3 separate regions of the Homo sapiens genome follow, and all the other regions are linked to region 1. The links are contacts of gene promoters, found by promoter capture Hi-C in human tissues and cell types (Jung and others, 2019). All regions are on one chromosome and are shown on one strand. Each heading gives the region's core, a stretch centred on a gene start or on the middle of the fragment in contact. The rest is flanking DNA. Distances are from core to core; before and after follow the strand shown.

The links. Contacts are between HindIII fragments. The study calls those that stand out against the background at their distance.
Region 2: a contact is called between a fragment that was not itself captured here and the fragment with the promoter of CDRT15L2 in region 1, in 2 of the 25 tissues and cell types used here (spleen and stomach).
Region 3: a fragment that was not itself captured here is called in contact with the fragment with the promoter of CDRT15L2 in region 1 in 3 of the 25 tissues and cell types used here (H1 embryonic stem cells, dorsolateral prefrontal cortex and spleen).

Annotation. Positions count from the first base shown.
Region 1 is chr17:20,577,276-20,581,080 of GRCh38, reverse strand. CDRT15L2 (CMT1A duplicated region transcript 15 like 2) reads right to left here and starts at 1,357. Exons shown (of 2, transcript NM_001190790.2): 1 at 1,073-1,357; 2 at 170-932. The coding sequence starts at 1,337. The coding sequence ends at 352. It overlaps LOC105371580 (a long non-coding RNA gene), which reads left to right and starts at 1,390. Exons shown (of 4, transcript XR_934315.4): 1 at 1,390-2,043; 2 at 2,229-2,454. RefSeq lists an enhancer at 1,196-2,194. The HindIII fragment of the contact is 15,974 bases long and covers 1-3,805 here.
Region 2 is chr17:20,544,603-20,548,072 of GRCh38, reverse strand. It overlaps the pseudogene TBC1D3P3. Among named protein-coding and RNA genes, the nearest start is that of CDRT15L2, 33 kb to the left of the region's middle. The HindIII fragment of the contact is 9,690 bases long and covers 1-3,470 here.
Region 3 is chr17:20,618,745-20,622,570 of GRCh38, reverse strand. All of the region lies in intron 2 of LINC02088 (long intergenic non-protein coding RNA 2088), which reads left to right. Among named protein-coding and RNA genes, the nearest start is that of LINC02088, 13 kb to the left of the region's middle. The HindIII fragment of the contact is 3,404 bases long and covers 1-3,100 here.

The DNA of each region.
Region 1 (3,805 bases), core at 108-2,607:
GCAAGAGTGGGTCAAGGTCTTCTAAAAGCCATACCTGAAAGGTTTCCAATAACAGATGACTCGATGGTAATTCAGCCACACAAACAACCACAACAAAAGACACAACTATCCGAGATTTTCAGGATAGCCTCAAAAACACCATCTAACATTAGGGAGTTCAAAAAGGTGAGAAGTTTCAGAAATCAAACTTTATTTATATTTCATTTCATAAACTTGTAATTCTAACACTATTAATAAATGCTAGGGCAGGTGGTGGCATGGAGAGCCTGGAGCACAACAGCTGTCTTTAAAAGCTTTCCTTGCTGTACCCTTTGGAGCCACCTCCTGGTCCCCTCAACCCCTGCCCACCTGTTAAGAGCCCGTTCGGGGCAGCACATTAGGGGCAAACAGCCTGGATGCCCAGTTGCAGACACACTTCCATGCCTGGAGGAGAAGATTGCGTCTGAGAGCAGGAGGAGCTGCTGGAACTCTTCTTCCCAGCCTTGTTTTAATGCTCTTGAGCATCACCTTCACAGAGATATACCCCACCAGAATTAGCACAATAAACAGGCCCTGCAGCAGCAGGGCTGTGGTTCCGGCGAATGAGAGAAGCCTCTCTCCAGCGAGGTACAGGAGTCCAGTCTGAATGCCCTGGTCTCCGCCTCCATGTTTGCCACCATGCCCAGGACTAGGGGCAGCATGGGATCTGCTGGCTGGGGCTGTGCTTGTCACCCCCTCCCTCCCACTTCTCTCTCCAGCCACGTTTTCAGCTCCAGCATTAAGGCCAGTGGCTACAGTAGGTGCCATGATTTCAGGCAGCTCCTGGCTGGGCTGGTCCTTGGCTGGAGCTCCCTCCACCTCCAGCGCTCTCTCTGGAGGGGGCTCTTCCCATGCTGGCTTTGGCTCGACAGCCGGTGCCGCAAGTGCTGCTATGTCTGCGTACGGACCAGGAGCTGAAAAAGGAGAAAGGGTCACCAGCATCAGTCACTTTCCACTGGAATTTCCAAACACAGAGACAACCTCACTGAATTCAAAGGCATTCCAGCCCAAAAGCACCGCCCCCGCAAAGTCTTCCAGGCTGCAGCCACCTCACCATGTGTCTGTGCCTCCATGGGCTCCCGAATCTCCTCCTGGACAAGGACAATGTGCAGAGGCAGCCCCGATGGGATCTCTGGTGTGGCCTGGCCAGCTAGGGCCTGCCCCGGGCTGTCCTGTGGTACCTGGGTGCGCCTTCTTACAAAGGGCCACAGGCGTCTGGGGTGAGGGATGAGCCTTCTTCGGCATTGTCGGAAAAGGCTCTCACTCCCTCCATTCCTGAAGCAGCAACCTCTCGAAGTGGGGAAGCAACAGGAGAACATCTTGCTCTCTTGAGCGTCTCCCACAAAGTGAGCTGGTTACGGCGCTGACTCTAGGATATGGGTGCCTGGTTACCAGAGTTCTAAGTTCTCTTCGTGTGTGTCATCATCGAGGAAGTGAGGTCGCTTCTTTACGGTTCTGTCCCCTAGGCCCCTTCCTTCCATAAGCCTACTCAGGACTCCACTGGGTTACTGACTACTCACCCTCCCCTCAGGTCATCTCCTGACCCGTACACAGTTATGTCCACCCAGGCTCTGCTTGGACACCTGTGCCTGATGTTCACCAGGGGCCAGATGTCGTCCTCAGGCCTGATGTCCACCTGGGGCCTGATGTCTGCCTTGGCCTATGTCCCTCTTGGGGCCTTGTGTTCACCTGGGGACTGTATCCAGCTGGGGCCTGATGGCCTACTGGGTCTTGTTGTTCACCTAAGGCCTTGTGTCCACCTGGGGACTGGTGATCACCTGGGGCCTGGGTGTCCACCTGAGGCCGGAGGTGCACCTAAGGCCTGAGTTTTCACCTGGGCCTGATGATCACCTGGGGACTGGGTGTGTGCCTTGGGTCTTTTCCCTTTTCCTGAACAGGGCTTGCAGTTTCCAAACCAGACACAATCTCCCAGTTGGAGAAAGAAAAAGGATCCTAGATGATAGTGAGACAAATTTCAGGAAACTCCATCCAAATAAGTAAATGAGAATGAGGACAGGATTCATTGTAAGTAACATTCTCAGGTGGTGTTCCAAAGTTATCTTTTGCCTGGGTACAGTGGCTCACACCTGTAATCCCAGCTCTTTGGGAGCCCAAGGTGGGAGGATCACTAGAGGCTAACAGTTTGAGACCAGCTTGGGCAATGGAGTGAGACCCCCATTCTGAAAAAAAAAAATCAAAAAATTTAACAGGCATGGTGGCATGTGCCTGCAGTCCCAGCTACTCAGGAGGCTGAGGTGGGAGGATCGCTTGAACTCAGGAGTTGAAGGCTGCAGTGGGTGAGGATCACAACACTGAATTCCAGCTGAGGTGACAGAATGAGACCCTGTCTCTCTAAAAAACAAGCAAGCAAACAAACCAAAAACCACAAACAAACCAGACCCCTCTTAGCAGAATACTTCCATGAGGTAATAAAAGGTATGTACCAAATGCCTACAACAAACATATGTCATGATGAAATGTTAAATGCTTCCCATGGAATTAGGTTCAGGACAAGGTTCCATCCACCATCGCATTTGAATCCCACGTTGCACAGTGTAAAGGGGCCTGCCCAAGGTCATAACATTGCACACTGGGTAAGTCAAGAGAACCCAGTACAGCACTTTAGATCCTTCATTATAGTTTTGTTCTAAAACTGCTCCTGTTATCTTTTGGACATGAGTCTCTTAAGTATTATCATTTGAATTCACGTATACTAGTTCATTTTCACACTGCTCTAAAGAATACCTGAGACTGGGTGATATATAAGCAAAAGAGGTTTAATTGGCTCACAGTTCTGCATGGCTGCGAAGGCCTCAGGAAACTTACAATCATGATGGAAGGCAAAGGGGAAGCAGGCAATTTCTTCACAAGGCAGCAGGAGAGAGGGGAGAGCAGGGGAAACTGCCACTTATGAATCCATCAGACCTCATGAAAACTCACTTACTATCATGAGAAGAGCATGGGGCAAACCACCCCCATGATCCAATCACCTCCCACCAGGTCCCTCCCTTGACACATGGGGATTAAAATTCAAGATGAGATTTGGGTGGGGACACAGAGCCAAACCATATCATTCTGACACTGGTCCCTCCCAAATCTCATGCCCTTTTCACATTTCAAAACCAATTATGCCTTCCCAACAGTCCCCCAAAGTCTTAACTCATTCCAGCATTAACCCAAAAGTCCAAGTTCAAAGTCTCATCTGAGACAAGGCAAGTCCCTTCCACTTACGAGCCTGTAAAATCAAAAGCAAGTTAGTGACTTCCAAGATGCAATGCGGGTACAGGTACAGGCATTGGGTAAATGTTCCCATTCCAAACGGGAGAAATTGGCCAAAACAAAGGGGCCAATGGGCCTCATGCAAGTCCAGAATCTGGTAGGGGAGTCATTAAATCTTAAAGCTCCAACATTATCTCCTTTGACTCCATATCTCACATCCAGGGCATTCTGATGTGTGCTCCCAAGGTCTTGGGCAGCTCTGTCCCTGCGGCACTGCTGTTTTTACAGGCTGGCATTGAGTGACTGCAGCTTTTCCAGGCACATGGTACAGCTGTTGATGGATCTACCATTCGGGAGTCTGGAGGATGGTGGCCCTCTTCTCACAGCTCTGCTAGGCAGTGCCCCAGCGGAGACCCTGTATGGGGGCTCCAACCCCACATTTCACTTCTACCCTGCTCTAGCAGAGGTTCTCCATGAGGACTCTGCCCCTGTGGCAGACCCAAAATTATATATATCATTATAGTTGATATTCTGAGGTAGAGATAAAAGAAGCTATCAGTTTGATTAG
Region 2 (3,470 bases), core at 379-2,878, 33 kb after region 1:
TAGTCACCACAGATGAACTCGGCTCTGGTGACCCTCCCTGGCTTCAGTAACAAGCCAAAAAGCAGCTTTCTGCACAAGGAAACCTTCCTTCTTTCCTTCCTTCCCAAAGCGCTGACTGTGGGCTGACTGCCATTTGGGGCAGGGAGTCTTCCATCTGTTCTGAGGCTGCTTCCTCCTCTTGGCCCTGCCCTACAGATCATGAAGGAGAAGGGCAAGAGGTCTTCTGAACACATCCACCAGATCAAACTGGACGTGAGCAGGACTCTCCAGAACCATGTCTTCTTCAGGGATCGATATGGAGTGAAGTAAGCCTACGAGAGCCACAGGGTCCCAGAGGAGATGGGGTGAATGAGAGGGATGGGGACTTTCCCAGAGCAGAAGCCAGGATCACCCAGGAGGGATGACAGAGCTGCCAAGAGCTCTCCTAGCCCAGGGAGCAGCCGGCACCATGAACCAAGCACCTCCCTGGTTCCAAGCCCTGGGCCAGGCTGGAACATGTGGGGCCAGAACCCAGGAGGATCCTGAGGAGACAGAAGACAGCAAACAAAATCATGCATAATGGTGAAAGGTGCTCTCCCTGACCCACGGGGACCCATGGTAGGACCCACGGGAGGGTGGCAGGATGGAGAGCCCATGAGCCTCCCCAGGCAACACTGACAGCACCAAATGCTGGGAGAATTAGGGGTCCTGGAAACTCTCATCCAGGTCTGCTGGGAATATGACATGGCACAGCCACGTTGGCAGCCAGTTGGGCAGTGGCTCACAAAGCTCAATGGACTTGAACCACACGTCCCCAAGGTGTCACAGATATTGAACCCACTGATTTGAAAACTGACATCCACATGAAACCTGCATGCCACGTTCACTGCTTGATTCCTCATCAGTCACACACGAAGCCTTCGGGGATGGCCTTCAACACGGGAATGGGGAGAGACAGTCTGGTCCTCCTTTCAAACAGAAGACCCAGTGAGAAAAGGGAATGAGCCAGTGATGCCCGCAGGAATGTGGGTGGATCCTAGATGCATTTTGCTAAGGGAAAGAAGCCAGACCCAATAAGCTACCACAGTAGGATTCCCATTCCTAGGCCATTCTGGAAAAGACCAAACCATAGGGACTGAGAAGCAGTCTGGGTGGCCAGGGGCTGACGGATCGGGGAGAGGCTGGGTGCATAGGGGAAACCCTGGAGATTTGAAAGATCAGGAGTCACTCCAGGAGGGGCTGGAGTGGTGGCCGGGAGACTCTGCACACTGGTTTGGAACCGTGGAGGAACTGTACACCCAAAGACTGAACTGGCGTGTGTGCAAACTGAAAAAAAAAAAAAATCATTCAGAGTGAAAAGGATCGGTCAACTCCCTGTACAACTGGGCTATTTGCATGTCACAGATGTGGATTTTACTGAAACATTTCTTCAATAATCTCAGGCCCTGAAAGTTCACTGCTTATCTGGTGAATCATCTGAACCTGAAATGGGATTTGTTTTTAGGATTTGTAGACAAAGTGAAACTAACAGCATCTGCACAAACCAAACCCTAGCCCCCTTTCTCTGTTTCCTAGGCAGCGGGAACTATTCTACATCCTTGTGGCATATTCAGAGTATAACCCGGTGAGTATTCCCGGCAGTGAGGTTCCTGGGCCATATTTCCATATTCACAGGAGTGGGTGTCTGATGGGGGTGTCGTTGCTTCTTTTAAAGTTAGTATTTGTGACCCACCAGGATATAGGAGGTAGGATTCCAGGTCACTGCTGGCATAAACCTCCAAGCAAGGGGGTGGTCTCAAGGGGTCAAGCTGAGACACAAAGGACTTGGGGCCTGGACTCCTGGTGTCACCTGGGCCTGTCACCTGGGCACTTCTCAGAACAAGAAATGACACCCTCCTCCTGGGGCTGCCCCAAAGCCTGGGAGCTTGGCAGTGTCACATGCAGGACGGTGCTCTCAGGAGACAATTTGGACAAGGTGCTGAAGTGCCTGATGGACTTGGCTCTTGTCATGAAATGAATTTGCATCCTGAGGAAGCCTCTTCAGAGGAAGCCTCCCCAGTCACCTCTGCCCTCTCCAATGACATGAGTCCTCCCAGGTGACCTCGGCCCTCCCAGGTGATGTCCTTCCATGGCGATTCTGGCTCTTGCAGGAGGTGGGCTACTGCAGGGACCTGAGCCACATTGCCACCTTGTTTCTCCTTTATCTGCCTGAGGAAGATGCATTCTGGGCACTGGTGCAGCTGCTGGCCAGTGAGAGGCACTCCCTGCCGGGTAGGTGAACAGCTGCCCGTGGGGCCTCATGCAGCCAGATCTGGGGACAGCCACCGTGGCCAGGTGATCTCGGCTTTCAGCCAAGGCACCATCCTTGTGTCGCCAGCTTGTTGGGAGCCTTTAGGACGTCTCTGCTGAGGGTCCCACAGGAGTCCGCAGCTGACCCCCACAGCCCAAGTCAAATGCCTTTCATCCCCATCAGCAGAGGGCATCTCATCCTCCCCGTGGCCACCCTCTGTGTCCTGGAGCCACGCCCTCCGGCTCTGACTCTGTGCAGCTGACTCTCCCCTCCCTGAGAGTCCTCCTGCCCTCCAGCTGCCCAGGCTCCTGCTGCCCTTGGTGCCCACGAATGGGCTAACCAAGCCCAGGTGGCAGCATCTCCCCATCCCGTGTCCCCTGGCCCAACCCCACTTCCACAAGATGACCAGGAAGCCCAGCACCCACCGTGTTCTGGCTGCTCTGTTGTGACCTCAAAGTCAGGCTTGCCCTTTTTGCACCCTAGCCCAGGAGGCCTCCAGGGGAACCTCCAGCCAGGCTCCAGGGGATGTTCTTGTCCCACCTCCCCAGGGCAAAGGCCGCATGGTGGGGTCACCAGATGGGAGGGTGGGAGGCCTTCGGGTTTGGGGGCCTCTGCAGCTGCCCAGCTCTTGCAGCTGATGGCTCCACATCTTGGGGGAAGGCTCTGATTTCATGATGGGCTGGGGGCTTCTCAGGATTCCACAGCCCAAATGGCGGGACAGTCCAGGGGCTCCAAGACCAACAGGAGCATGTGGTACCCAAGTCACAACCCAAGACCATGTGGCATCAGGTGAGTTTATTGTCCCCTTGGCTCTTCTCAGAGGCCTTGCCTCCCGTGGGGCTGTAGGAGCAGGGGGACTGGAGACCCTCGTGGGACTGGTGACTGGCGGAGTCCCAGCCAGGGCCTGACCTGAGACGTCGGGTTCTCCATGGGCTGGGAGTTTGTTTCCTTTCCTGCCCTGGAGGAGACAGAGGCACAGGGATGGGGGCCCCGCTCCCGCAGAGCAAGTCAAAGGTCAGTGTGTCCACTGAGAGTGTGGGAAGGGGACAGTGTTGTGGGGAGCTCTGGACACCGCCCAGTGTTCTGCACTAGGGGAAGGGTCTTCAGAGGCCCTGGAAGATGGAGGTTTTTAGGGCAGCCCAGGGGGCCCTGAGCACCTCTGTTCCTCCCATCAGGACAAGGAAGGTCTATGCGGACAGTG
Region 3 (3,826 bases), core at 149-2,648, 41 kb before region 1:
TGAACACATAAGAATATGCAAGTTGGGAGAGCAAATTGAAAACAATAGTTCCAGAATGGACCCTAATGGTTTCAGCCCACTCAAGTGTTTTGTAATGGTCTGTATAGATCCTTAATTATAAAGAGAGTACAGAGTACAGGATAAACACTGAATGGTATTATAGTTGTGAAAATAATTGACATTACTTAAACCTCACATTATTACTTTATTTCAGGCCAGCAAACTGAAAAAATATGGGATTTGATATACTTTTTAATTCAGTTTTTAAATTTATCTGTGAAATACATGATGGTTTCATTTTGTATTGCTATTATAAAACTCCTCTCTCTATATATATATGTGTGTGTGTGTGTGTGTGTGTGTGTGTGTATATATATATATATATATTTTTTTTTTTTTTTTTTAGACAGAGTTTCACTCTTGTTGCCCAGGGTGGAGTGCAATGGCATGATCTCGGCTCACTGCAACTTCCGCCTCCCAGGTTCAAGTGATTCTCCTGCCTCAGCCTCCTGAGTAACTGGGATTACAGGCATGTGCCACCACGCATAACTAATTTTGTATTTTTTAGCAGAGACGGGGTTTCTCCATGTTGGTCAGGCTGGTCTTGAACTCCTGACCTCAGGTGATGCACTCACCTCGGCCTCCCAAAGTGTTGGGATTACAGGCATGAGCCACCATGCCTGGCCAAAAACTCTTCTATATATTTTTAAAATTTTATAATTAGACATTATTTTCTGAAAATCTTGGAAACTAACCACTTCTAGGAATGAAAGCCTGGATCTACTGACAGCCAGCCCTGGACACAAAGATTCATCCACCCAGGTGCAGAGGCTCTCAGAGTGCATTGGATGCTGTCTGTCCATCCTTCCCCACCCCTGGAGGTTCATCTTTGGCTGGGACAGGGTTGGAGGGCAGCAAGAATGGCTGAGACTGGCCTCAGAATGTGGCTTCGTGGTGTCTGTCCTATGGGTGGCCCTGGGCTCGGGGGATGGTTTCTGCCATCAGGATCAAGACTCTCTCTCATGCTGCAGGGTCCAGAGGGTGGGCCTCGTCACTACCCTTTGCACCCCTCCTCCTAACACGAACAGTAACAGAACATTCCCAGAAACCCAGAACCTCCCTCATGCATCATTCTAGTCACTGTCTCCCTCTGCACTAAGGATAATCATTGCCCTGTCTAATACCATGTATCAGCTTTGCCTGTTTTTGAATTTTCTATAAATTTCATCCATGTACAACATCCTCTTTTGGGTCTGGCCTCCGTATTCCAATACAATGTTTGTGAGATCCGGTCACATTATTGGGAGTTAGAGTTTATTTGTGCTCGTTGCGTAGTAGTAGTTCGTTATAGGAACGCCACAATACTGTGTTTATTCCACTTTAGGTGAACATTTGGGTTGTTTTGAGTTTTTGGCTCATAATATTGGTGTGAAAATACTTGTACACGTCTCTTGGTGAACATATGTGCACATTTCTCCTGGGCCTGGGGGTGGACAAAGCTTTGTTTTTAACCATTAACTTGATATCAGTGTTAGTAAATTTCTAATGATTTAATCCAAATAACTTTCAAAGACCTTTCCAAGCCTAAAGACAACAAAGCCTGTGCTTTAATAATTATATATCCTGGAAATATTTCTGGAACATTTTCTAGAAATGGAGGCAATCATGACTTTGATTTCAGATGTCAGAATGCCCTTGGGCCTAAAGATGGGTTCATGTTGCAGGGCCTCCTCTCCAGGTGGTTTCTTTTTCACTCTGCCCAAGGTGCTTCTGTTTTCTCCCTGGGAAATGGAAGGAGTTCAGAATGATTTCTGTTGTCATAGTTAGGAGACTGTGCATACCTGGAAATAATGGTCAGGAGAAACCCTTTGTGTTGATAAGGGGGCAATTTTTTATACGTCTTTCACTGAAATAAAGAAAGGGCCAAATTAATTCCATATCCAAGTTAAATTTATGATTTTTGGACAGGTGCGGTGGCTCACACCTGTAATCCCAGCACTTTGGGAGGCCGAGGCAGGTGAATCACCTGAGGTCAGGAGTTCGAGACCAGCCTGGCCAACCTGGTAAAACCCTGTCTCTACTAAAAATACAAAAATTAGCTGGGTGTGGTGGTGGGTGCCTGTAATCCCCACTACTCGGAAGGCTGAGGCAGAAGAATCACTTCAATCCAGAAGGCGGAGGTTGCAGTGAGCCGAGATCACGCCACTGCACTCCAGCCTGGGCAACAAGAGCAAAACTCCGCCTCAAAAAAAAAAAAAAAAAGTAAAATAAATTTATGATTTTCAAAGAGGAAGCCTTGATAATTAACCAAATCTAACCATTAATTTAAGCTATTTGGTACATTGTGTCACTTTAGATGGAGGAAGCTAAACAAGAATTACATAGTTTCCTTTTCACATGGAAAAGCTATGTGTAAATCTGTAGAAAATGCCCCTGTGAGGACTTAACACATTTTCTTTGATTGGATTGTGCATCTTGTTTAATCTTTACTGAATGTTCTGTTTAAAATCATCTTTTACCAAGCTTACTTTTGTTGATAGATCTTTGAAAATTAATTTGCATTGAGACCAATATTTATGGTCTCTTACATATCACAGACAATAAATGCACATCTTTAGGACAAAAGTAGTGCCTAGGCTGGGGCTTTAAAGTCCTACAGACCTGGCTGTGAAAATAAAAACCAGTTATAAACTGTAGATTTGAGTAATTTCCCTTCTGTAAACTCTAGTTTCTTCATCTATAAAACAGTCATTATTATTGTGGGGATTAAATGAGATTTAACCATTTCAAAGTTGTGCTCAATGCTTGGCATAAAGCAAGCACACAGCAATTTCTGTTCTTCCTACCATTATGTTATTGTGATTATCACCTTCAACTGTTCCCTTCAACTGTGCTCTTGAAAAGTGGGCATCTTTTCGATCAAGCAGTTCTTCTATTTACCTAAAGGTAAAATCGTTTTGGCCATGTCAACAAAATGTCATAATATAAATATAAACATTATATACAGAAGCTAATGTTCTGTAAATAATCTTGCCTCATTTTCTACAAATCTGTTGGTCTCTGAAAAAAGGAAATTAAAAACAATTCATAGAGAGAAAAATCAGAGCAAACATGAGATTGTGCTTTGACACCCTTCTCTCCATATATGCATGTGCAAGGACCTGAAGCAAGTCGTCACCGAGAGATGAAATGCCTTAAATACATGTCTTCTATGATATCACCAGGCTGTGCTCTGAGGCTCTTTTCTTCATTCTTCCTGTCGTTCTAAGGTCCTACATGCCGATGTCCATCTTTTCTCACAAGTCAATACCAGAGAGGATTAACCTGGATTCGTCTTTATTTTGGTGGCAATAAGTTTCTTTATTTAGCCCTTATTCCAACCTTCTGGCCTCTTTCCTGTGTCTCTATTCTTACTTTCAAAAGTTATCAGGCACATTAACTTAGAGAAGGGAGTACAACAAGAAGCATAAACATTAAAAACAAAGTAAAATTATCTTTATTTGTTTCTTGGAAACATAAGCCAGTACCTTGAAAAACAACATTAAGAAAATTCAGTAAAGGTCTTCCCTGTGAAAGTAACTTCAGAAAACAATTGTTCATATGTATGCATAATTAGTTCAAAATAAAGGAAAAATTGACCCCTGAATCTGAAACAAAAAAATTAAAAATGTCCTAAGCTTTCCATGAAGAAATATTCAAAACACCACTGAAGGGCATGATAGAAGACTTAAATACATTGCATCCTTGGGTATCAAGACTCACTATTACAAAGATGTTACTTTCCCCTAAATTATCCCTCAAGTAAAATGAAATTATTCAATTTGTA